7 separate regions of the Homo sapiens genome follow, and regions 1, 3, 4, 5, 6 and 7 are each linked to region 2. Evidence: promoter capture Hi-C in 16 types of primary human blood cells and fetal thymus (Javierre and others, 2016). All regions are on one chromosome and are shown on one strand. Each heading gives the region's core, a stretch centred on a gene start or on the middle of the fragment in contact. The rest is flanking DNA. Distances are from core to core; before and after follow the strand shown.

The links. Contacts are between HindIII fragments. The CHiCAGO score rates a contact against its expected background, and 5 or more counts as called.
Region 1: a contact is called between a fragment that was not itself captured here and the fragment with the promoter of ZNF432 in region 2, in 2 of 17 cell types (non-activated CD4 T cells and activated CD4 T cells). The highest score is 5.2, in non-activated CD4 T cells.
Region 3: a contact is called between a fragment that was not itself captured here and the fragment with the promoter of ZNF432 in region 2, in 3 of 17 cell types (total B cells, non-activated CD4 T cells and total CD4 T cells). The highest score is 7.2, in total B cells.
Region 4: a contact is called between a fragment that was not itself captured here and the fragment with the promoter of ZNF432 in region 2, in 2 of 17 cell types (total CD4 T cells and non-activated CD4 T cells). The highest score is 8.3, in total CD4 T cells.
Region 5: a contact is called between the fragment with the promoter of ZNF461 here and the fragment with the promoter of ZNF432 in region 2, in 4 of 17 cell types (non-activated CD4 T cells, naive CD8 T cells, total CD4 T cells and 1 more). The highest score is 11.3, in non-activated CD4 T cells.
Region 6: a contact is called between a fragment that was not itself captured here and the fragment with the promoter of ZNF432 in region 2, in 1 of 17 cell types (naive CD8 T cells). The highest score is 7.5, in naive CD8 T cells.
Region 7: a contact is called between a fragment that was not itself captured here and the fragment with the promoter of ZNF432 in region 2, in 2 of 17 cell types (non-activated CD4 T cells and activated CD4 T cells). The highest score is 5.7, in non-activated CD4 T cells.

The regions. Positions count from the first base shown.
Region 1 is chr19:36,844,712-36,848,092 of GRCh38, reverse strand. It overlaps a transcript of ZNF790 not described here. Among named protein-coding and RNA genes, the nearest start is that of ZNF345, 4.5 kb to the left of the region's middle. The HindIII fragment of the contact is 5,910 bases long and covers 1-3,381 here.
Region 2 is chr19:52,047,507-52,051,023 of GRCh38, reverse strand. It overlaps ZNF432 (zinc finger protein 432), which reads left to right and starts at 2,186. Exons shown (of 5, transcript NM_014650.4): 1 at 2,186-2,329. RefSeq lists an enhancer at 1,814-2,403. The HindIII fragment of the contact is 4,326 bases long and covers 1,586-3,517 here.
Region 3 is chr19:37,221,378-37,224,905 of GRCh38, reverse strand. ZNF383 (zinc finger protein 383) reads right to left here. Exons shown (of 6, transcript NM_001387601.1): 2 at 1-88. Among named protein-coding and RNA genes, the nearest start is that of ZNF383, 4.9 kb to the right of the region's middle. The HindIII fragment of the contact is 239 bases long and covers 1,708-1,946 here.
Region 4 is chr19:37,204,403-37,208,161 of GRCh38, reverse strand. It overlaps ZNF585B (zinc finger protein 585B), which reads left to right. Exons shown (of 5, transcript NM_152279.4): 2 at 908-1,122. The coding sequence starts at 1,051. Among named protein-coding and RNA genes, the nearest start is that of ZNF585B, 4.3 kb to the left of the region's middle. The HindIII fragment of the contact is 4,710 bases long and covers 1-3,759 here.
Region 5 is chr19:36,665,338-36,668,848 of GRCh38, reverse strand. It overlaps ZNF461 (zinc finger protein 461), which reads left to right and starts at 2,012. Exons shown (of 6, transcript NM_153257.5): 1 at 2,012-2,159. It also overlaps a transcript of ZNF567 not described here. RefSeq lists an enhancer at 1,706-1,835. The HindIII fragment of the contact is 6,595 bases long and covers 1-3,511 here.
Region 6 is chr19:36,772,833-36,776,220 of GRCh38, reverse strand. LOC728485 (a long non-coding RNA gene) reads right to left here and starts at 3,068. Exons shown (of 2, transcript NR_164117.1): 1 at 2,712-3,068; 2 at 1-835. RefSeq lists an enhancer at 3,154-3,313. The HindIII fragment of the contact is 5,631 bases long and covers 1-3,388 here.
Region 7 is chr19:36,515,898-36,519,206 of GRCh38, reverse strand. All of the region lies in intron 2 of ZNF260 (zinc finger protein 260), which reads left to right. Among named protein-coding and RNA genes, the nearest start is that of ZNF260, 11 kb to the left of the region's middle. The HindIII fragment of the contact is 3,899 bases long and covers 12-3,309 here.

The sequences.
Region 1 (3,381 bases), core at 554-3,053, about 15 Mb after region 2:
GTCCCTTAGTACTTCTACAGCAAAATACCTGAGAAGCAAAATACCTGAAAAGTAATTTGTAAATAATAGAAAATTATTTCCCACAGTTCTGGAGGCTGGGAAGTTCAAGATTGAGATGCCAGCAGGATAGGTGTCTGGTAGGTCTGCTCTCTGATTCCAAGATGGGACCTTGCTGCTGCATCCTCCACAGGGCAGGAATGCTGTGTCCCCACATGTCAGAAGGTACTGAAGGGCTGGACCCATTCCCTCAATCCTTTTTTTGAAAGCACTAATTCCATCTATGTAGGCTCTTCCCTCATAATTTAATCACCTCCTAAGGGCTCCACTTCTTTTTTTTTTTTTTGAGACAGAGTCTCTCTTTGTCGCCCAGGCTGGAGTGTAATGACGTGATCTTGGCTCACTGCAACCTCCATCTCCCCAGTTCAAGTGATTCTCCTGTCTCAGTCTCCCAAGTAGCTGGGATTACAGGCACATGCCACCAATCCCGGCTAATTTTTGTATTTTTAGTAGAGACGGGGTTTCACCATGTTGTCCAGGCTTGTCTCGAACTCCTGACCTCAGGTGATCCACCCGCCTCGGCCTCCCAAAGTGCTGGGATTACAGGCGTGAAGGGCTCCACTTCTTAATCTAACACATTGGCGATTAAGTTTCACTATATAAATTTTGGGGAACACATTCAGAACATAACCAAGGACAAAAGAACAAGTGTTTTTGTTTTGTTTTTTGTTTTGTTTTTTTTCCCAAGACAAAGTCTTACTGTATTGCCCAGGCTGGAGTGCAGTGGCGCAATCTCGGCTCACTGCAACCACTGCCTCCCGGGTTCAAGCAATTCTGCCTCAGCCTCCCGAGTAGCTGGGATTACAGATGTGCGCCACCACACCCGGCTAATTTTTGTATTTTTAGTAAAGACAGGGTTTCACCATGTTGGCCAGGCTGGTCTTGAACTCCTAACCTCATGATCTGCCTGCCTTGGCCTCTCAAAGTGCTGGGATTACAGGTGTGAGCCACCGCACTTGGCTAAGAACAAGTGTTTTAACAGAAAATACTCTGTTTAGGAAACTACAAGGGTTTTAGGACCCATGAACCAAGAACCATGGGCATGGATAAAGACCAAAATACATATTTCTTATTACATCACAATATCAGAGAGGTATAGACTCAGGATTGGTTGGTTTGCATATGTAAGCTGTGCTCATTGGAAAACTGTGATTATCTTTAGGAATTAGCCCTGAGAGGAGCAGCCTCTCCCTGTTTTTGGTAAGGTCCCCAAATGCCAGAGCATCAAGAATACAGAAAATAAGAAAATATAGTTAATATAATTGGCCTCTTGATGAACGAGTGCCAAATAGACTAATAGAGAATCTAAGGAAATGCAGTTAGAACACAGAGGCTATGTAAGTATTTACCTTCCACAAATGGTGAACTAATTTTTATTCCAACCAGAAATGTATGAAAGTTCCTATTTCCTGTTCCTGTCAACCATTGTATTTCTTCATTCAGCAGATATTCATTGAGCTCTTTTTTTTTTTGAGACGGAGTCTCGCTCTGTCGCCCAGGCTGGAGTGCAGTGGCACTGTCTCGGCTCACTGCAACCTCCGCTTCCCGGGTTCAAGAATTCTTCTGCCTCAGCCTCCCGAGTAGCTGGGACTGCAGGCGCCTGCCACCATGCCCGGCTAATTTTTGTATTTTTAGTAGAGACAGGGTTTCACTGTGTTAGCCAGGATGGTCTCGATCTCCTGACCTCGTGATCTTGTGATCTGCCCGCATCGTCCTCCCAAAGTGCTGGGACTACAGGCGTGAGCCACTGCGCCTGGCCTCATTGAGCTCCTTATCTGTGCCAGGTGCTATTCTAGGCACTAGGAAAATATCAGTGAACAGAACAGCCAAGATTTCCTGTCCTCACAGAGTATACCATTCTAGTTGGGGAAGTGGACAATGAATGTGTAAATGAAATATATCATATTCCAGATAAAGATAAGATTGGGGCCAGGTGTGGTGGCTCATGCCTGTAATCCAAGCACTTTGGGAGGCCAAGATGGGCGTATCACCTGAGGTCAGGAGTTCGAGATCATCCTGGCCAACATGGTGAAACGCCGTCTCTGATAAAAATACAAAAATTAGCCAAGTGTGGTGGTGCATTCCTGTAATCCCAGCTACTGGGTAGGCTGAGGCAGGAGAATCGCTTGAACCCGGGAGGCAGAGGTTGCAGTGAGCCGAGATCATGCCATTGCACTCCAGCCTGGGCAACAAGAGTGAAACTCCGTCTCCCACCACCCCCCTCAAAAAAAAAAAAAGAATCTAGGTTCTTTATAAATCTTTGTGCTGTCATATTGCACTGTCATTTTCTGCAAAGCCAAAGGTGGATCCATTTTTTCTGTCAATTTGTTGTACATGTTTTTAAAAATCTTTTAGTGATTACCTGAAAGATTACAGCATTCCTCTTTCTTTTAGTCTAGGACAAATTATTGACTTTACCATTTCCCCAATACTGCTAGAGGACCTTGGGACACTTTAACTCCATTTACCTCCATCCTCATTTTTGCTTTATTTTTGTTATTTAATTCTGCATACATTCAAAACCCCAGAGGGCAGTATATTACTTTGTGCAGTCAATATTCATTTATATTCACATACTTACTCTTTCTATTGCTATTCTTTCCCTACTAATTTTTTTTTTTTTTGGAAACAGGGACTCTGTCACCCAGGTTGAGTGCAGTGGCATGATCATGGCTCACTGCAGCCTCGACCTCCCAGGCTCAAGTGATCCTCCTACCTCAGCCTCCTGAGTAGCTGGAACCGCAGGTGTGCGCCACCACGCCCAGCTAATTTTTGATTTTTTGTAGAGGCAAAGTCTTGCTATATTGCTCAGGCTGGTCTTGAACTCCTAGATGCAAATGAACCTCCACCTTGGCCTCCCAGATTGCTGGGATTACTAGTATTAGCCACTGTGCCTGGCCTAAATTTCTTTCTGTTTCATCTGAGATCTTGTTCTTCTCGAAAAACTCCATTTAGTATTTCTTTTTTTTTTTTTTTTTTTTTTTTTTTGAGACGGAGTCTCGCTCTGTCGCCCAGGCTGGAGTGCAGTGGCGGGATCTCAGCTCACTGCAAGCTCCGCCTCCCGGGTTCACGCCATTCTCCTGCCTCAGCCTCCCAAGTAGCTGGGACTACAGGCGCCCGCCACTACGCCCGGCTAATTTTTTGTATTTTTAGTAGAGACGGGGTTTCACCGTTTTAGCCGGGATGGTCTCGATCTCCTGACCTCGTGATCCGCCCGCCTCGGCCTCCCAAAGTGCTGGGATTACAGGCGTGAGCCACCGCGCCCGGCCCTAGTATTTCTTTTAGTGGTGTTCTGATGGCAATGGATTCTCATGGTCTGTCTGA
Region 2 (3,517 bases), core at 937-3,436:
AAAAAAGAACAACAACAAAAAAGAATACATAGTGAAGTAATTTGAAAAGATTAAATGTTAAGACAGGCATGGTGGCTTATGCCTGTAATCCTGGCACTTTGGAAGGTCGAGGTGGGAGGATTGCTTGAGCCCAAAAGTTCAAGACCAGCCTGGGCAACATGATGAAACATCATCTCCACAAAACATACAAATATCAGCTCTGTTATATATGAAATAAACAGAGTTTTCCAAAGATCTTTTATAAGATGGGAGAAAGGAGATGAAATAGAAGAGAGATTGACTTGGTCCTTCAGGATTGGAATCTGATAGATGGGACACTAGAGGAAGTTTAATGTAATCTTTTTGGCTATCTAGATCTAGTTTTTAGGCCCTGGCTAGAAGCCAGTTAGTTCCTCTTCTAGAATGGCCAATTAAGTCTACAATGCCGGCCACAGTGAGCTTGTGGTATTTAGCTTGCCCTAATCCTATCCCCATATCCTCAGCTTCAAGGTAGCCTTGAAAAGCAACCACCTTTTAACAACAGTAACAGTGAATATCTGCACCCTAGCAGAATATCTGCACTTGAGGAGGTAGAAATGGCTCTGAAAATGGCAGAAATGGCTCTGAAACACCCAAAAGCCTCCATCCCCACAGAATGTTCACTACTAAGCCTGCTTTGCAGCCTGCTGAATAGGTCTATTCTCATAGTATTTCTCTATTTGGCTTGACTTTATTTATGTGAACACTCCTACCCATAGGGCACTTGTCAAAAAACAATCAGCAGCAATTGTTTAACACTAGAGTGTTTAGGGGAGTGACAGTGTGTGTCTGCGTGATAGATGGAAGTAATAAGAGGGCACAGGGGAAAGGGGCCATACGCATAAGATGATGGAACAGAGAGCCTGGAGGGTGGGGTATAGAGAGTGTAGGGGAAGGGAGAAGGCAGACAGGTAAAAGGAAAAAGAATGTTAAGTGTTGTTCAGCCTCAAGACTGACATGATGAAAGTACCTTTATTGTGGTTTTTGTAAATTAGAATGCATGCTTTATTATTAAAAAAAACACAATTGAAAATGTTAAGGACCTTTTCCTCCTTGCTTCTTATAAGAAACCATCATAAGACATAACTTGTAATAATTCTGTAGAAATATACATATATAAAGATATATGTATATATATATTTTAAAATAGTATGTTTTTATTGCAAAATATTCATTAGTGTCATCATATCATAGCCAGATCTACAACCCCAGAGTAATTCCCATGGTTATGTTACATGGCAAAAAGGACTCTGCATTGTAATTAAGTTTATTAATCAGCTGACTTTAGCATTGGGAGATTATTCTGGATTGCCCAAGCACTTAAGAATAGGAGAAACCGGAGAGATGCAGCAGCAATAGTCAGTGGTTTCAAATATGAAAGGGATTTCACATACTATTGTTGGCTTTAAAGATAGGAAGTCGTGGGGGCAAGGAAACTCTCTAAAGGAAATTAATCTGGCAACAACCTAAATAATTCTAGAAAAGGATTCTTTTCCAGAGTCAAGAACAGAGCCAGGTGGTTCTTCTCTTCTAAAGACATTTCCATGGGCCAGTTCCACCGCAAGCTTCTCAGAGAGAATATGTTCTGCCGTACGGACACCGAACGTCCCCTAAGATGGCCGCCCCCATGATGCTCTCCCCTAAGGGCTCTGGCTCCGTTACCTGCAACGCACCGCTCGCTTATTTTTTGTTCTAGTCTCTCTTGCTTCAGTTTTTATACGGCTTCTAAAACGCTTCGCATTTACAATAGTGACTGAGGTGCCCAGAGGTGACTTTAATTTTCCATTGAGCTGAGACGTCACAGCCATCATAACCGCTAAGAAGGGATGCCGCGCCTTTGTGGTAATAATGGGTTCTGGCCTTTGAGAAGTTTGCGCCGTTCACTGTCCCCTGCGAGGAGAAGACTAACTTATTTCTGTTCCGTGTCTGTTCAGAGGACTTTACCCCCACGCCGTGTCTGCCTGTGTGAACTCAAGCCTCTGATAAGCTCTCCATTTTCTGCCAGGGCTGAGGTGTCTGGAAATCGGACAGTTTAAGAGGCCTCCGTCCACCGCGTCTCCCGGCCGCTGTGCCTTCTGTACGTCACGTACTCAAAGATGGCCGCCCCCAGAGCGGCGAGGCGACGCCGGCGCGGACGCGTCTCCTCCTGAGGAAAAGCCGGAAGGCCGCATTCCGCTCTCCATGGAAACGCGGCTGACCGTCTCTGGAGGTTTAGAGGGGGAGGGAGTTGGGCGAGGGGCCCAGAAGTGGAAGAAGTTTAGGGAAGTAAGTTCAGCTTTTAAGAGGTCGCGGCGATTCCAAGGAGAGTCAGGTCAGTGTGTGGGTCAGGGCGTGGAAACGTGGTGGGAGGGAGCTTTCTGAGGGCGTCTGCGTTGTTGGTGGCGCTATATGGTGGAGGTAGCGCGGGGGTTGGGGGAGGCGGGGGCGGGTGTTTCCTTTTGGAGGGGAGCTGGTAGGAGTCCCTGGTGGGTGTCTGTGATAGGATATCTTTGGGGTCCCTCATGGAGGCTCTGGTGGTCAGTGATTAAAGGCCTGAATAGATCAACGACCAAGAGTACTGAGGTCAGGGATTGTGGTCCTCGCGGGTCACTCCCCAGTGGGGCTCAGTGATTGAGAATCGATGGGGTGGCTTTTGTCAACGAATGTGACTTCTGTTTCACATTCTGGATTAATCTGAGGCTTAGTGATTGATGAATCATTAAGGGAATCCAGTGTACGTGTGTGTCTATTCCAGGTTTTCCTATTTTATCTGGCGGGGTGGTGGTCTTTTGTCTAGAGACAAGTGAAAGCCGAAGTCTTTTCACAAGAGCCCTGGCTGGTTTTGTGTGTGTGTGTGTGTGTGTGTGTGTGTGTGTGTGTGTGTGTGTGTGTGTGTGTTGAGCTCAAACTTTGGCTGGAACAGACTTGATGAACGTTAACATTTCCTAAAAGTTTCAGGTCCGAGTACCTCCTCCACAATGAGTTTTCTAATCCTCTGGCTTTCCACAACAACCCATGCTCTTGAACCTGCAGAAAATGAAAGTTTTTTGGGGGTGAAGGGGGGCGGATGAATAGGCTTTCTATTTAACATTATGTTTTTAAATTACTGCGCACAAATTAACAAGAGCCTATTTTTATCCTTCCTCTTGCAAATGTACTGCATATTTTTATGGGTGTTTCAGGTTTTGTATGTTAGTATATAAAGGCGGCTATTTTCCCAGTATTTATATTTTTGAATTGTTTTCTAAATTTGTATTTATAACTCGTATTCCTTTTCTCTGTCTCCCTCTTTTTTTCTATGTGTTTCTTGTTCTTCATATTGAAGTGTGTATATAAACATTTTTTTTTTTTTTTTGAGATGGAGTCTTGCTTTTGTCGCCCAGGCTTGAGTGCAATGGCTGGGCTCACTGCAAACTTCGCCTCCTGCGTTCAAGCCATTCTCCTGCCTCAGTCTCCGAGTAGCTGGGATTACAGGTGCCTGCCACCATGCCTGGCTAATTTTTTCTATTTTTAGTAGAGA
Region 3 (3,528 bases), core at 578-3,077, about 15 Mb after region 2:
AGAATCGCTTGAACCCGGAAAGCAGAGGCTGCAGTGAGCTGAGATCATGCCACTGCACTCCAGCTTGGGCAACAGAGTGAGACTCCGTCTAAAAAAAAAAAAACAAAGATTAAGATGGTAAATTTTACATTGTCTTTTATACCACAATTAAAATGAAAACAAAATCATTGAAAAAAAAAAAAAAGCTAGCTGGGCATGGTGGCACATTGTCTGTAGTCCCAGCTACCCGGGAGGCTGTGATGGGACAATCACCTGAGCCTGGAAGGTCGAGTTTGCAGTGAGCTGTGACTGCACCACTGCACTCCAGCCTGGGTGACAGAGTGAGAGGCCCGTCTCTCAAAAAAAGAAAAAAACAAAAAACCAGAAAAATCTACATGTTCAATGAAGTATAAAAAGGGACCCAGTATAATGATCAGTGGCTCAGATTCCAATGAGCTTATTTTGTGGAACCAAGTCCCAGGTACCAAACACTAATTAATTAATTGAGCCCTCAGCCTTTAAGTTAAGTCTGTGGTTGGTTTAATTTTCCTCTTATCAGATATTGGCAATTTTTGTGTTACTTCATATTTTAAGTTTTGTTAGAGATTTATTAATTTTATTAATTCCCAAAAATAAGCTTTTGCCTTTGTTAGTTTTCTTCACTGTACATTCATTTTGTATTTCAATATATGTTCGTTATGTACAGCAAAACACGTACACCTTAAATATATGCAATACCAAATAAACTAAAAATTTTATATTTGGGCTTTTATTCTTATTATTTCCTAGATTTTAATTTTGGGGGTTTAACTTTCTAGACTTTTCCTTAGCTTCTTGAGATGAATACATAGATCATTAATTTTTCAACATTAATTTTTTTCTTTTTTTTTTCTGAGATGGAGCCTCACTCTGCCGCCCAGGCTGGAGTGCAGTGGCGCGATCTTGGCTCACTGCAACCTCTGCCTCCCAGGTTCAAGCAACTCTCTGCCTCAGCCTCCTGAGTAGCTGAGATTACAGGTGCCCGCCACCATACCTGGCTACTTTTTTTTGTATTTTTAGTAGAGATGGGGTTTCACCATCTTGGCCAGGCTAGTCTTGAACTCCTGACCTCGTGATCCACCAGCCTGGGCCTCCCAAAGTGCTGGGATTACAGGTGTGAGCCACTGCGCCCGGCCAACATTCATTTTTTTCTAACATATGCATTTACAGCTATATATTTTCCTCATATTCAGCTTTAGAAACATAATTTTGGTATGTTATTTTTCATTATCACTCAGTTTAAAATATTTTAAATATCTATCACAATTTATTCTTTGAGTCACCAGTTATTTATAAATACATTGCTTAAATCCCAAACATTGGGATATTTCTTTAATTTTTGTTTTTTTAAATTTAGAAATGGGGTCTTGCTATATTGCCCAGGGTGGCCTAAAACTTCTGGGTTCAAGCAATCCTCCTGCCTCGGTTTCCTAAAGTGCTGGGATTACAGGCATGAGTCACCACACCTGGCTGGGATATTTCCAATTATCTTCTTGTTATTGACTTCTAGCTTAACCTACTGTGGTCAGGAAAGTTACAGTATTATTTCATTCCTTTGAAATTTATTGAGACTCCCTTTGTGGCCCAGCATATGATCAATTTGGATAAATGTCTCATATGCATTTGAAAAGCAAGTATATTATGTAGTTGTAAGGTACACTGTTCTATACATATCAATCAGGTCAAGCTTGTCAATCACACTGTTCAAATACCATATAGCTTTATTGGGTTTGTCACTTGTTCTGTCAGCTATTGAGAAGAGTGCTAAAAACTCCCCACTAAGATTGTGATTTATCTACTACTTCTTTTAGTTATGTCAAATATATTTGAAGCCATTTTATGAAGGCATATAAATTCAGAACTGTTATATCTTACTGGTGAATTGATCTTTTTATTATAAACTATTCCTCTTTATCTCTAGTAAAGCTTCTTGTTGTAAAATCTATTCTTGTCATAAAGTCTACACTGCAGTTTGGAATATAGATTGATACCACTATTTCAGAAAACTGTCAGTATCTATTAGAGCTGAACATATACAGAAACCATGACCCAGCAATTTCACTCCTAGAAATACACCCAAGACAAATGCATTCATATGTGCACCAAAAGACATGTAAAAGAATGTTCCCGGCAGCGTTTTTCATAACAGCCTCAATATGAAATCAAATGCCAATCAGTAATGGAATGGATAAGTAAAATGTGTTATATTCGGCCGGGCACGGTGGCTCACACCTGTAATCCCACCACTTTGGGAGGCCGAGGCGGGCGGATCACCTGAGGTCAGGAGTTTGAGACCAGCCTGGCTAACATGGTGAAACCCCGTTTGTATTAAAAATACAAAAAATTAGCTGGGTGTGGTGGCGTGCGCCTGTAATCTCAGCTACTTGAGAGGCTGAGGCAGGAGAATCGCTTGAACCCAGGAGGTGGAGGTTGTGGTGAGCAGAGATGGTGCCATTGTACTCCACCTTGGGCAACAAGAGCGAAACTGTCTCAAAAACAAAAAAAAGTGTTATATTCATACAACAGAATTTTAAACAGCAATAATAATGTGTTCACTATATTCATTATATCACCTATAACTAACGTGCAGCAACATGGATGAATTTTATATATTTATACTACATATTATTACAGAATACATTCATATTACATACGAAATACAATATTGAGCAAAAGAAGCCAAGCATCATCTCCAAGTGAAACTGACAGTAGGAAAAAAAAAGTGAAAAAAAAAGAAGCCAAGCAAAATTCAAGTATAGGTAAAATTAGTCTATGGCTATAGAAGACAAACTATTAGTTCTCTTTAGGAGAAGTGGGTAGTGAGTGAACTGGACAAGACTTGGGCTTCTGTAATGCCAGTTATGTTTTATTTCCTTATCAGATTTGAGATCTGGTCAAAGGAATATGCTTTTTCTTTTTTTTTTTTTTTTTTGAGACAGAGTCTCGCTCTGTCGGCCAGGCTGGAGTGCGGTGGCACAATCTTGGCTCATTGCAAGCTCCACCTCCCGGGTTCACACAATTCTCCCGCCTCAGCTTCCCAAGTAGCTGGGACTATAGGCGGCCGCCACCATGCCCGGCTAATTTTTTGTATTTTTTTTTTTTTTTTAAGTAGAGACGGGGTTTCACCGTAGCCAGATGGTCTTGATCTCCTGACCTCATGATCTGCCTGCCTTGGCCTCCCAAAGTGCTGGGATTACAGGCACGAGCCACCGCGCCCAGCCCGGAATATGCTCACTTTTATACAAGTCATCAGGTCATATACCTTGATTTTGTACTTTTCAGAATGTATGGTATATATATATATTTGAGACAGGGTCTTGCCCTGTTGCCCAGGATGGAAGGCAGTGGTGCAATCGCAGCTCACTGCAGCCTCAACCTCCCTAGGTTCAAACAATCCTCCCACCTTATCCCCTGAATACCTGGGACAATAGCAGCATGTAACCATGCCTGGTTAATTTTTGTACTTTTTGTAGAGATGGGGTTTCACCATCTTGCCCAGGCTTGTCTCAA
Region 4 (3,759 bases), core at 532-3,031, about 15 Mb after region 2:
GACTCTACTAAAAATACAAAAATTAGCTGGGCGTGGTGTCGCATGCCTGTAGTCCCAGCTACTTGGGAGGCTGAGGCAGTAGAATCACTTGAACTCTGGAGGTGGAGGTTGCAGTGAGATGAGGTTGTGTCACTGCACTCCAGCCTGGCCACAGAGCGAGACCCCATCTTAAAAGAAAAAAATATTGTGTGAGGTGGAGATCTAGTTTGTTTTATTCCAGATGCATGGCCAATTGCATGCACCAATTGGGGATATGTATACAATGAATGCCGTGTGCACACTCAATCGCATATCATTTTTATTTCATATATAGATCAACATTGTCTGATATGTTTATTATCTTACTTGTTTTGATGACATGGTTTTCTGTATTACGTTTTAATATAGTGCATGGTAATTGCTGATATTTATTGCGTGATTCTTGCATGGCAGGGAGGCATTGAGTACTTTAAAAGCATAATCTCATTTAATCTTAGTAACTGTGACACAGGCATTTTCATCCTTATTTCTGAAACAAAATCTGAGTAACTTCTTTATATTCTCATTGTTGAAAAGTGGTACAGCTGCAGTTCAAATCTGCAGTAATGTTACTCTAAATTTCATGGCTTTTCCCATATTTCAGCACTGTTCTCCACAGTTCTGAAAGTGTGGTTCTTGTACCAGCAGCATCAGCATTTCCTGGGCACTTATTAGAAAATAAAATTCTTAGGGCCTACCTTAGACCCATCGAAGGGGTGAAGTTGAGAATTTTAAACTATGTTTTAACAAGCCCTCCAGGTGACTTGAATGCATACCTACGTTTGGGAACCACTGCTCTGGTTTCTAGCGCAGGGACCTGCACCTTGGTGTATCCAGGAAGTGTTTATGTAGTGAATGTTGAATGACTACGTGGACATTGTTTTTCTAGGTTCTTGGGTGTCTCTGGGGAGTCCCTGGGCCAGACCTTCCTCCAGACTCCAGCCCACCTCTTCGGAGCAGCTCTGCTGAGTTCACAGATGACCACTAAACTTCAGGCACCCTAGACAAAAAGGGTTGAGATCCAGTGTGGCCATGCCAGCTAGTTGGACCTCACCCCAGAAATCCTCAGCCCTGGCTCCAGAGGATCATGGCAGCTCCTATGAGGTGAGGAGGAGGAGTCCCAAGGGGTGGAATTTCAGTCCAAGAGTAGATAGCTCTAATCTGTCACCACAGCCTTAGGGCAGAGGCAGACAGGCCTTAGGAACCAGCTGGACTCTAGACTTGGTGCTCCTGAAAGAAAACTTGATCTTCCTGTCAAGAATGAACACGTGGGTAATGTCTCCGTCTCTGGAGGCCACCTGTGTGACAGTGGAGAGGTGCACTGTCAAGGAAAACTGTTGTTGATTTTGTCATCACGCTATATTGATGTTTTGGCTGCAAATAGAATTCCTTGTTAGAAGTGACTTTTGTTTGAGATTTTGAAAGCATTTTTTCATTTCTTCCTAAACCACCTCCTCAAACACAAATGTTTTCTCTGTTTTCTTTCTGAAACTTGTTTTTCAGATGTTGCTTCTCCATTTCTTTTCTCTACTATTTTCTATGTATTTCCTGCTATCCATTCTGGGTAACTTTGACACCTTTTGCCTTCCAGCCCTTCTATTGAGCTTCTCATTACCACTATCCACATTTTAACTTAATGTTTTAATTTTTAAAAACTCTAGTTTGTTTCCTAAAATTTTTTTTTTTTTTTTTGAAACAGAGTTTTGCTCTCATTGCCCAGGCTGGAGTACAATGGCATGATCTCGGCTCACTGCAACCTCCGCCTCCTGGGTTCAAGAGATTCTCCTGCCTCAGCCTCTCAAATAGCTGGGACTACAGGCATGTGCCACCTCGTTCGGCTAATTTTGTATTTTTAGTAGAGACGGGGTTTCTCCGTGTTGATCAGGCTGATCTCGAACTCCTGATCTCAGGTGATCTGCCCACCTCAGCCTCCCAAAGTGCTGGGATTACAGGCATGAGCCACTGTTCCCAGCCTGTTTCCTAAATTTTTTTTTATTGCCATCCCGTTCTTATTTCATGGATGTAATGTTATTTTTTAAATTATTTATTTATTTATTTATTTATTGATGGAGTTTTGCTCTTGTTGCCTAGGCTGGAGTGCAATGGCATGATCTCCGCTCACTGCAACCTCTGCCATCCAGGTTCAAGCAATTCTCCTGCCCCAGCCTCCTGAGTAGCTGAGATTACAGGTGCGAGCCACCACGCCTGGCTAATTTTTGTATTTTTAGTAGAGATGGTGTTTCACCATCTGGGCCACGCTGGTCTCGAACTCCTGACCCTCAGGTGATCCACCTGCTTCGGCCTCCCAAAGTGCTGGGATTACAGGTGTGAGACACCATGCCCGGCCTGGGTGTATTGTTATTTCTTATCCATCTGAAGATATTGTGATAATTTATTAGGAATAGTTTAATCTTTTGAATAGGCAATGCATATACCTAGTTCAAAAGTTAGAAATATATGAAAAGCAATATATTGAAAAGTATTATGGTGAAAGAGATGGGACTGTGGTTCACCCACCTCTGCCTTCCATCTACCTGTGTCTCCCGGTAGTGATAACCTGCTTTATTCATTTTCTTTGATTGCTTAGTTCTGTATACAAATGAAAACAACTACAATTTTTTTCTCTTGATTTCAGAATGGCATAGCAGATTAACTTTTTTGTACATTGCTGTTTTAATGTTTGTTTGGTAAAATACAGAAACTATTATGAACAATATCGCAGTGGATATTGTCATGCCTTCTCTTTCTATTGGATATATTAGAAGTAGTGGAATTTCATTTCAGGGTTCTAGTCACGTGGTGAGAGTCTCATCTGCACCTCAGTGAACCTCTACTTTAGTTGCTCTTGGGCAGTTTTAGGATTGAGTATCTTAATAATTTTATTCTAGAAGATAGGAAGGATAGCTTGAGGCTAAAGTTACAGTTGGTAAAGCAGCAGCAGTTGGCTGGGCACGGTCGTTCACACCTGTAATCCCAACACTGGAAAGCCAGGGTGGGAGGATGGCTTGAGGCCAGAAGTTCAAGACCAGCCCTGGCAATGTAGTGATTCCCTGTCACTACCAAAAAAAAAATTTAATTAAATTAAAAATTAGTTTGGGCCTGGTGCGGTAGCTCACACTTATAATCCCAGCACTTTGGGAGGCTGAGGCAGGCAGATTGCCTGAGGTCAGGAGTTCGAGACCAGCCTAGCCAACATGGTGACGCCCCGTCTCTACTAAAAATAAAAAATATTTGTCAGGCATGGTGGCGTACGCCTGTAATCCCAGCTACTCAGGAGGCTGAGGCAGGAGAATCGCTTGAACCTAGGAGGCAGAGGTTGCAGGGAGCTGAGATTGCACCACTGCACTCCAGTCTGGGTGACAGAGTGAGCCTCTGTCTCAAAAAAAAAAAAAAGAAAAACAATTAGTCTGGCATGGTGCTGTGTGCCTATAGACCCACCTGCTCGGGAGGCTGAGGCAGGAGGATCACTTGAGCCTAAGAGTTCGAGATTACACCTAGCTATGAGCATGCCACTGCACTCCAGCCTGGATGAAAGAGATAGACTTTGTCTCAAAAGAAAAAAGCAGCAGTCTCTTGCATTAGGCAGAATAAGGAGACTTTTATTCACTTTTGTGGTTTGAAGAATGTTCTGATTTTTGTCTATGCTCAAATATAACGACAGAGTGGTCTTGGTATCATCTTACACCATGATGGTCAGAGATTGGTCTTGTTTGCTGTTGGTGTTCTAAGAGATTGTTTTTG
Region 5 (3,511 bases), core at 763-3,262, about 15 Mb after region 2:
AGTTTCAAGTGCAAACCATCTCACATACATGAATGAGAATCAGACACAAGCAGAATCACTTGTTCTCAAACAAGCACCATTTCCTCATATTACACTTGGTGATGGAGTTACTGGTCTCTCAGCAAGGTTAAAAATCCTTACCATGGATCTGTCCCTTCTGGCAGATAACATGTGCCAGCTTCCACTCCTCTAAGTCGGCTCTGGACTCTCACACACAAACATACACAGTCACCTCACACCGCTCCTATGCATACATCTAAGGTTCAGGACGCCCTGGTCCAGAGATCTGTCATTCATCCATCTCAGACCTTCCTGGTCGCAACCAGCTTCTTCCCTTCTCAGGGGCCGCCACAGTCACACTAGTCCTCTAATCATGGGTGGACCCAGCGCAAAAAGCCTCACACAGAATGTCACAAGATCCCTGTGCACGTGGCTGCGCTCCTGCAAACGTGGCAATCACACGGGTCCAGGTGGCCTCTCACATTTAAGCCACATCACGTATCACCCCCACAGGGGCCACTGCGGGAGTGGCGGCGCTCGCCGCATGAGCCCCACGCGGGCATATAGAACAGCCATTCTCAAAAAGCCTCAAAACCGTTTCACCACCCAGCGCGGTGGCTCACACCTGTCATCCAATACTTTGGCCACTGAGACGGGAGGATCGCTTGAGCCCAGGAGTTCGAGACCACCAGCCTGGGCAACATAGCGAGACCCTGTCTTTACCAAAAAAATAAAAATAAAATAAATCGTTTTGGCCTGACCCGGTGGCTCACGCCTGCTATCCCAGCACTTTGGGAGGTGGATGCGGGAGGAGCTGAGGAGGTGGAGACTGCAGTGAGCTAGGATCGCGCCACCGCAGTCAGCCTGGGCAACAGGGCATGAAGACCCTGTCTCAAAAAGAGGCCGGGCGCGGTGGCTCACGCCTGTAATCCAGCACTTTGGGAGGCCGAGGCGGGCGAATCACGAGGTCAGGAGATCGAGACCATCCTGGCTAACACGATGAAACCCCGTCTCTACTAAAAATACAAAAAATTAGCCGGGCGAGGTGGCGGGCGCCTGTAGTCCCAGCTACTCGGGAGGCTGAGGCAGGAGAATGGCGTGAACCCGGGAGGCGGAGCTTGCAGTGAGCCGAGATTGCGCCACTGCACTCCAGCCTGGGCGACAGCGAGACTCCGTCTCAAAAAAAAAAAAAGAAAAAAAAAAAGTTGAGTGAAATATATGACGTACAGTTTTTTGTTGTTGTTGTTGTTTGTTTTTTCTTGCCCGGGCAACAGGGCAAGAAGACTCTGTCTCTAAATAAATAAATAAATGGAGTCAAATATATGACATACAGTTTTGTTTGTTTGTTTGAGAAGGAGTTGCTCTGTCGCCCAGGCTGGAGTGCAATGGCGCGACCTCGGCTCACCGCAACCTCTGCCTCCCGGGTTCAAGCGATTCTCCTGCCTCAGCCTCCCGAGTAGCTGGGATTACAGGCATGCGCCATCACGCCCGGCTAATTTTGTATTTTTAGTAGAGACGGGGTTTCTCCATGTTGGTCAGGCTGGTCTCGGTGATCCGCCCGCCTTGGCGTGAGCCACCGCGCCCGGCCAAAAAAAAAATTTTTTTTTAAATCGTTTCACATACAAATCTCACGCGCTACACCCTCACCGTCAGTTCATATCCACCTTCTCCTCCGGAGTCACCTTCGGACACGCGCACAACAAAACACCTTTCTCACCACAACTCCACAAAGGGAAGCCGGGTTAGTCCGCGCCCGCCGAAAATTATCTTCAGCCACAGCCCGCGGAGGCCGCCTTGAGGGGTTCGGGGCAGCCACTGTGCCTATTCCGAAATCCGTCCTCAGCGGAACCCGAAGTCCAGAATCCGAAAACGAACATTAACAGGTTGGCGTCACTCCAGCCTCGGGTGAAACTGCGCAAGTGCATCCCGGAGCCCGGCGGAACACACCCGCTCCACCCCAGGCGCTCTCCCCTCGGACTGCATTTCCCAGAGGACACTGCTGTCCACAGCTACTTCCGGTAGGAGCCTCGCAGGAATGGTCTCCGGGTAGAGGCAGGTAAGGATGTCCCGGGCCGGTGGAGAAGGAAGAGCTGGGCGTGTGGCTTCGCTTGGAATCCGAATCAGAGCTTGGACCAGAGCCTTCCCTGAGAATGCTGAAGGTAAGAAATCCTGGCTCACCAGTGCCGCGGAAGGGAATGTCTATAGTTTTAGGCCTCTGAGTGCGGGATCAGCCCTTAGGTGGGTGTGTTTTGAATGCGTGAGGAAGTAGGGTTTCTCTTTGGGCTGTGTGTTACTGTTGGGACAGCGACCTGGTGCGTGGGTGTGCTTTAGTGACAGTGTGATTGTGTGCCTGATCATTTGTGTAAATGGGGTTTGTAGGTGACTGTGACCATGATTGTGAATGGCTATTTGTGTAAATCTCATTTATTTACGTGAAAGAAAAAGCACATTTACAGGCCGGGAGCGGTGGCTCACCCCTGTAATCCCAGCATTTTGGGAGCCCGAAGCGGGTGGATGCCCTGATGTCGGGAGTTCGATACCAGCCTGGCCAACGTGGAGAAACCCCACCTCTACTAAAAATACAAAATTAGCCGGGTATGGTGGTGCATGTCTGTAATTCCAGCTCCTTGGGAGGCTGAGGCAGGAGAATCGCTTGAACCCGGGAGGCGGAGGTTGCTGTGAGCCGAGATCGCGCCATTGCACTCCAACCTGGGCAACAAGAGTGAAACGAAACTGTCTCAAAAAAAAAAAAACAAAAAAACATTCACGTTATCCTCAGGCTCACACGATCAGGCAGAGAGCTTCCACTCCTCTCAGTCAACTCTGGTCTCTCACACACAGACACACGCACATTCACCTCACCCCGCTCCTGTGCACACATCTAAGGCTCAGGACGCCCCACTCCAGAGATCTGTCATTCATCCATCTCTCATCCTTTCCTGACTACTTGAGGAGTTAGCTGTAGATTTACACACACAACACAAGCGAAAATCACATTGCTACCCCGCATTTATCATTACAGCCTCAGAAAAACACCACATATGTAGTATGCTTATGTACCTATGTGTTTGATTTTTTTTTTCTGAGATTTGGCCACAATACACATTGTTCTGCAACTTCCTTTTTTTTTTTTTTTTTTTGAGACGAAGTTTCTCTCTTTCACCGTGGCTGGAGTGCGGTGGCGCGATCTCGGCTCACTGCAACCTCCGCCTTCGGGTTTTAAGCAGTTCTCCTGCCTCAGCCTCACGAGTAGCTGGGATTACAGGCATCCGCCACCACACCCAGCTAATTTTTGTATTTTTAGTAGAGACGGGATTTCACCATGTTGGCCAGGCTGGTCTTGAGCCCCTGACCTCGTGATCCGCCCGCATCTGCCTCCCAAAGTGTTGGGATTACAGGCGTGAGCCACCGCGCCCGGCCTCTGCAACTTCTTACTAAAAGATATTTATGTCCTTTTGTCTGTATTCAAAGACAAACTTAAGAATATTTTTCAGGATGTTTCCAGGTATGA
Region 6 (3,388 bases), core at 540-3,039, about 15 Mb after region 2:
ATGTGCCTATCATTGGGAGTCTGAGACAAGATAAAAGCACGGATCTCATAACAATAAATTACTTTGAAATCTTCTTTCTTGCTCAGTACAGGTCCCGCCGCCGCGCCGCCTGGCTCTCGTATTCCTGGTTCTCGGCGGGCTGTGGGGCTTCCGCGCCGCAGCCGTTAGTCTCGTCGGGTAGGTGACTCCTTCAGCGAGCAGGCGCAGCGACGAGAAAGGCCTGGCGGGGTTGCGCTGTCTTCCCGCCCACCGGAAGGCCCTGAGGAGAAGCCTCGGGCCCTGAGGGAGGGCTTGGGGTCGGGGGCGGCCGCTGCCGCCGCCATGTTGGGCTGGAGGTACGCACGCTCCCAACGCTCTCTGGCTGCGCTCCCAACGGTATCTGGCTGCAAATCACGGCGGGAGCGCCTCGGGCCTCTTGTCTTTTGACCCTGTCCTTGGAACCCGAGGAGACTTGCCGTTCCCGGGGGAGGGTGTGTGTGAGTCGGGCGGCGGAGGCCGTCTACGCCATTGTAGGGGCGGGGGGAGCCGAGATTAGAGCATCAGCCTGAGAGAAGTGGTGCTTCTGGTTCTCCGCTCTGCCTCGCATCTTTCAGCGAGGCCTCGTACCTCAGTTTTCCCATCCGTGAAGTGGAGCTGGGCCTGCCTGACTCATTCATTCATCAGGTGGAGGCCTTGACGCTCTAGGAGCCCTTTCAAAGGACTTTGCCTTACACGAAATAGTACCTATCGTTATTCACTCTGCAGTAACCACCCGGATTTGAGTGGCGGGTGTTTGCACAGTAATTCAGTTTCCTCTTCACCCTCCTGCCATTCGTCTTCCCCTCCAGTTTATCTCCTGAAAGAGTTTGAAATCAGCCTTGTCTATTATTGATAAACTCCTGTAGGTGTATTTGGTATTTCCCTTAAAACATGCAGACCAAAGGAAAGGCAATATTTTCCCCCCACGAAGCAGTTAACTTGGTAGAGGCCAGCCGTTGTATGGAAGAGAAAGAGAGTCTCTTCAGGACAGGCAGTTTGGATCCTGCTAAACCAGAATAAAAAATCTAGAACATGGGCCGGGCGAGGTGGCTCACGCCTGTAATCCCAGCACTTTGGGAGGCCAAGGCGGGCGGATCACGAAGTCAGGAGATCGAGACCATCTTGGCTAATACGGTGAAACCCCGTCTCTACGAAAAATACAAAAAATTAGCCGGGCGTGGTGGCGGGCGCCTGTAGTCCCAGCTACTCAGGAGGCTGAGGCAGGAGAATGGCTTGAACCCGGGAGGCGGAGTTTGCAGTGAGCCGAGATCACGCCACTGCACTCCAGCCTGGGCGACAGAGCAAGACTCCGTCTCAAAAAAAAATAAATAAATAAAAATCTAGAACATGGATGTCCCCTTGCTTTAGCAGACCTAGCTGATCACACAAGGTCCTGTATTGTTAGGCTGCATCACAGGCCGCAAAGACCCAGGTATCTATCCAGTTGTTAGAAACCATCCTGAGAGTTAGATACCACTTTTCTGTTGGAAATACAGACCATTTCCTGAAGCCGTATGGTTGAGGTAAAACAGGCCTTTTGCAGTCTTATATTTTGAGTAAGGCCAAAACTGCCTAGTGTTACAAAACCAGACAAAAAGCCCAGGTACCCAGTCTTGCAGGATAGAAATGTGTGACTAAAATGAAGCATCGATCTGAGAAGACTACAAATGAGCGGGAAAGATTGGACAGGAGCATGCTATACATTATTTAGATTAATGTTGATATTTAAGGAGCCAGGATATTGGTTTGTTTTTGAGGGGTGCCCATCTACTTTATGTAAGAAGCTATAAACTACACTTCTTTCAGTTTCTGCTTAATCCTTGCTCAAACAAGGAATAATTTCTTATTCCAAAGTAGACATTGGTACATCTTTTACTAGGTACATAATTTGGGATGAAGTCTGATAAAGCTCCTTAGAAGTACTTACAGTACACCCTCACAAGGGTGTACCATCTACCCATGGTTTAAACAGAAATTAAAATTCTACCTTCGTGGAAAAATTTGCCAAGTTTTAATGGATTCAGTGCTCATTAAAAACTTTTAGCCTGTCTTGATCTTTAACATAATTATTGGTGTGAAACAATGGCTTCTGTGGAAAATTAAAGTTTTAGTGGTTTGCTATTTGTGAAATACAGGCTTTTTCATGTATCATATTAGCATATAAGCTGGCTTAATCATTAGTACTGATCTTCAAGTTACTAAGACACCAGATATTTGTTACTTTGTAATTTGAGTTTTTAAAAAAATTCCGAAATTGGCTTTTCGATGTGTGAAAAGGACTACTTATTAGATGCTTGTTTTTAAATTTACATTCAATTAATTAAAGCTAGACTCTTTATATTCTTAGGCTTGGTATACTATTTGTATGTTTTGTAGTAAGTGTATAAAAATAATACCTTTGACTTTGTATAAAAAAAATCTTTCTTGCTTTAAAAGCCATGTTGGATTTGCATTCTAGACCGTAATAAATATAACTACTTTAACATAAAAATCTATTTATGTTGTTTATCAGATATTAGGGGTTTTTTTCCCTCTCCTGTCAACCTCCAAATAAAATCGATGCTCCAGAATGATGCCCTCTTATCATAATTTTACAAATACCTGGCTCCAAGGTTACTACCTGATACAAAAATACAATGCTGGTCTCCCAAACAGGCAACTCACATTGACACTCACACAGCTTCCACTCACACCTGCGATCACAAGGCAGCATCTTCGGGCCCTCGTCGGCCACGATCCGCTCCCAGAGAGCATTCGCGCACAATCTTATCCCATCCACGATTTTGATTCCTTTTCTCCCACTTCTTCAACCCTATCCGGGACGAGACCATCAGGTCCCACCTCCACCTTCACCTTCATTTTCCGCGCAATGCAGACTGAGCCCTGGACTCACCCATATACAGATTGAATTGTCCGGTCAGTGTTTCATCCCCTCTGCATTCTGAGGGCGAGTTAGCATCTGGGTGCATGAGTTCCAAACTAACAGCCAGGACCAGGCTTGGAGCCAAGAATCCTTTGGCTCGCATCGTGGCTGGGTTGACCGCTTTTCTGCCCTGGACTACATTTCCCATCGGTTCTACCGTTCGGGGCTACTTCCGCCGAGAACCGGAAGCACGTTTTCCTGTGTCTTACCCCAGATAACAGAGCTGCCAGGGATAATCAGGCCTGACCACTCTAGCGGGCGAGCCGGCCCCATAGCGAGCCGCTCGGCATGAGGGCTCTGCGATCCTCGTTGGAGAGGAGCGGTAAAAGGAAACAAGCCAGGCTTGGAAATGAGAGGCATAGGGAAGCCCGCAGTCGGGCTCTGGACTACATTTCCCAGAGGATCCCGCAGGCCGACGCCACGTCTCGCGAGATTTTGGCTTCCTCT
Region 7 (3,309 bases), core at 712-3,211, about 16 Mb after region 2:
CTTCCCAAGCTTTCAGACAGAACTGTAAAACCTAGAAGTCTAAGTTGGAAGTAACTTATGGTTAGGATTATCCATTGTCTTGCAATCTGATGCCTTTTTGATGTGGTATGTCTTTTTCTTTTATTTCCTTTTATAGGATAAATGTTTTGGAACATTTAGGATTTTTTTTTTTTGTTAAGACAAGGTCTCACTCTTGCCCAAGCCGGAGTTCAGTAGGGTAATCATAGCTCACTCTCCTGGGCTCAAGCCATCGTACCATCTCAGCCTCCCCAAGTAGAAGGGAGTACATGTATATGCCACCACACCCAGATAATCTTTTTTATTTTTAGTAGAGACAAGATCACACTGTGTTGCACAGGCCGGTCTCAAACTAGGATCCTCTTTTTATCCCTAGGTGAAATTTTGTATTGATGTGCTTTCGCCGCTATCTTTTTAAATGGAATGTTCTTTGTACTCAATGGGCCTGCTAAGTATGTGGACTCATGATTTGTAATTCTGGGAAGTGTTCTTTATTAGCTCTTTGAAAATGTCCTGTATTCATTTTTCTTCATACTTTCTTTGGAACTTCTTTAGTAGATGCTGATCCTTCCAGATTCTTCCACTAACCCACTAAATGTTCCAACCATTACACTCTTTCTTTCTGCCTTCCTCCATTCTTCCTTTTTTTATTCTAGGAGATTTTCTAGACTTTCTTTCCCCAACATACTGAATTTTTAAGATCAATTTCATATTGTTTATTTCTAAAAACACCTCTTTATAGAACACTGTTAATATTTCATTGCAGTGATAATAGTAATCTCCTAACTTTCCATGATATTAATTGTAGTATTATATGGGTGAGTTTTTCTGCTCTTTGCCTTGTATTTTGTTTGATCTGCCTTTGATGTTAGGACTTTCATCAAATGTTTTCTGATCTTTAGCTCTATATTAATTTGTGTATGTAAGCGGGGCTTATGAAATGGTGGTTTTCACTGTGCATCAATCAGTAATATAGATGTGTTTCGTTAGATGATTCCAAATGTTAGCATCTGTAGGTGTTCTCATGGTCTTCTCATTTTTTCAGAAAATAATTCTTCCGGGCCGGGTGCGGTGGCTCATGGCTGTATTCCCAGCACTTTGGGAGGCCAAGGCGGGTGGATCATGAGGTCAGGAGTTCAAGACCAGCCTGGCCAACATGGTGAAGCCCCGTCTCTAACTAAAAATACAAAAATTAGCCGAGCGTGGTGGCGGGCACCTGTAATCCCAGCTACTCGGGAGGCTGATGCCGGAGAATCCCTTCACCCGGGAGGCAGAGGTTGCAGTGAGCCGAGATCGCACTGCACTCCAGCCTGGGCAACAGAGCGAGACTCCGTCCCAAAAAAAAAAAAAGAAAGAAAGAAAAAAGAAAATAATTCTTCCATCATCTGACAGCTAGTAACCACCAGCATTCTCGGACTCTAACAGTAGAAGAGCCTCTGTTATGTGTATAAACTTTTACTCATTCTTCTCTTACTAGGATGCTCTCATTACTTTGCTGGTCATCACTAAATTTGGAGCCTCTTGGTTTTGTCTGGATGATAAACTTCACATTTCTGTCCAGCTAGGAGAGTTCAGGGCATTAGCTGGTCCTTTCACAGTCATTTTGTAAGCCCTGCCTTCCACTCTTGCCCAGTTTCTCCACTGACAGAGCATATCTGTCAATATCTGTGTTACAGACCTGTGAAGGTGGCCCCCACATCTGCTGGCTTTTCTTTAAACCACTCAGTTCTGCTGTTAATTTACAGTTCTCTATTTGCTTTCTTTCCAAAATTTCCTAATACTTTTTTTTTTTTAGAGACAAGGTCATACTCTGTCACCTAGGCTGGATTGCAATGGCATGATCATAGCATACTGCAGCCTCGAACTCCTGGGCTCAAGCGATCCTCCTACTTCAACCTCCCAAGTAACTAAGACTACAGGTGTATGCTACTGCACCTACCTAATTTTTAAAATTTTTGTAGAGATAAAGCCTTGCTGTGCTGCTTAGGCTGATCTCAAACTCCTGGCCTCAAGCAGTCCTCCTGCCTTGGCCTCCCAAAGTGCTGAGATTACAGGAAGGAGCCACTATCCCTAGTCCTCCTAATACTTTTTGTCCACTGATATCTTCTTAACCGTTTAGTTCTTATGTGTCCTTCTTCACCCTTTTACTGTCATTTTAATGGTGTTTCGGGAAGACATAGAAATAAGCACCTTATTTAAACTTTTCTGTTCATTTTATTTTTGCCCTGTCTTCCTATGCACTCCCAGTCTTTTAAGTATTTGTCCTTTCATCCTGTTTCTCACCGATTCCTTATGTTTTAAAGACCAAGTCGGCCGGGCGCAGTGGCTCACGCCTGTAATCCCAGCACTTTGGGAGGCCAAGGCGGGCAGATCACGAGGTCAGGAGATCGAGACCACCCTGGCCAACGTGGTGAAACCCCGTTTCTACTAAAAATACAAAAAATTGGCAGGGCATGGTGGTGGGCGCCTGTAGTCCCAGCTGCTCAGTAAGCTGAGGCAGGAGAATGGCGTGAACCCAGGAGGCGGAGCTTGCAGTGAGCCGAGATCATGCCACTGCGCTCCAGCCTGGGCGACAGAGCAAGACTCCGACCCAAAAAAATAAAATAAAAGACCGAGTCTTGCACTGTCACCCAGACACTGGCACGATCATAGCTTATTGCAGCCCTGAAATCCTGGGCCTAAGCAATCTGCCCACCTCAATCTCCTCAGTAGCTAGGACTACAGGCACCATGCCTGGCTAGTTTTTAAATTTTTTATAGAGACGAGAGTCTCGCTGTGTTACCAAGGCTGCTCTCAAACTCCTGGCCTCAAGCAATTTTCCTGCCTCACCCTTCCAAAGTGCTGGGATTATAGGTGTGAACCACCATACCTAGCCTTATTTTCTCTCATTTTACTGATTTATGAAGTGTGCTGGGTTACATTGAAAAGCAATTAAAATTACACATACCTGGGAATGTTATTTGTATTTGAACTTTATTTTATAATGAGACTAGGCTTGGATAAAGAATCTATTTTACAGCCGTGCGCAGTGGCTTATGCCTGTAATCCCAGCACTTTGGGAGGCTGAGGTGGGCGGATCACCCAAAGTCGGGAGTTTGAGACCATCCTGGCCCACATGGAGAAACCTTGCCTCTACTAAAAATACAAAAATTAGCCAGGCATGGTGGCGGGCTCCTGTAGTCCCAGCTACTCGGGAGGCTGAGGCAGGAGAATTGCTTGAACCTGGAAGGCAGAGGTTGCGGTGAGCCAAAATCGCGCCATTGCCCTCCAGCCTGGGCAACAAGAGCGAAA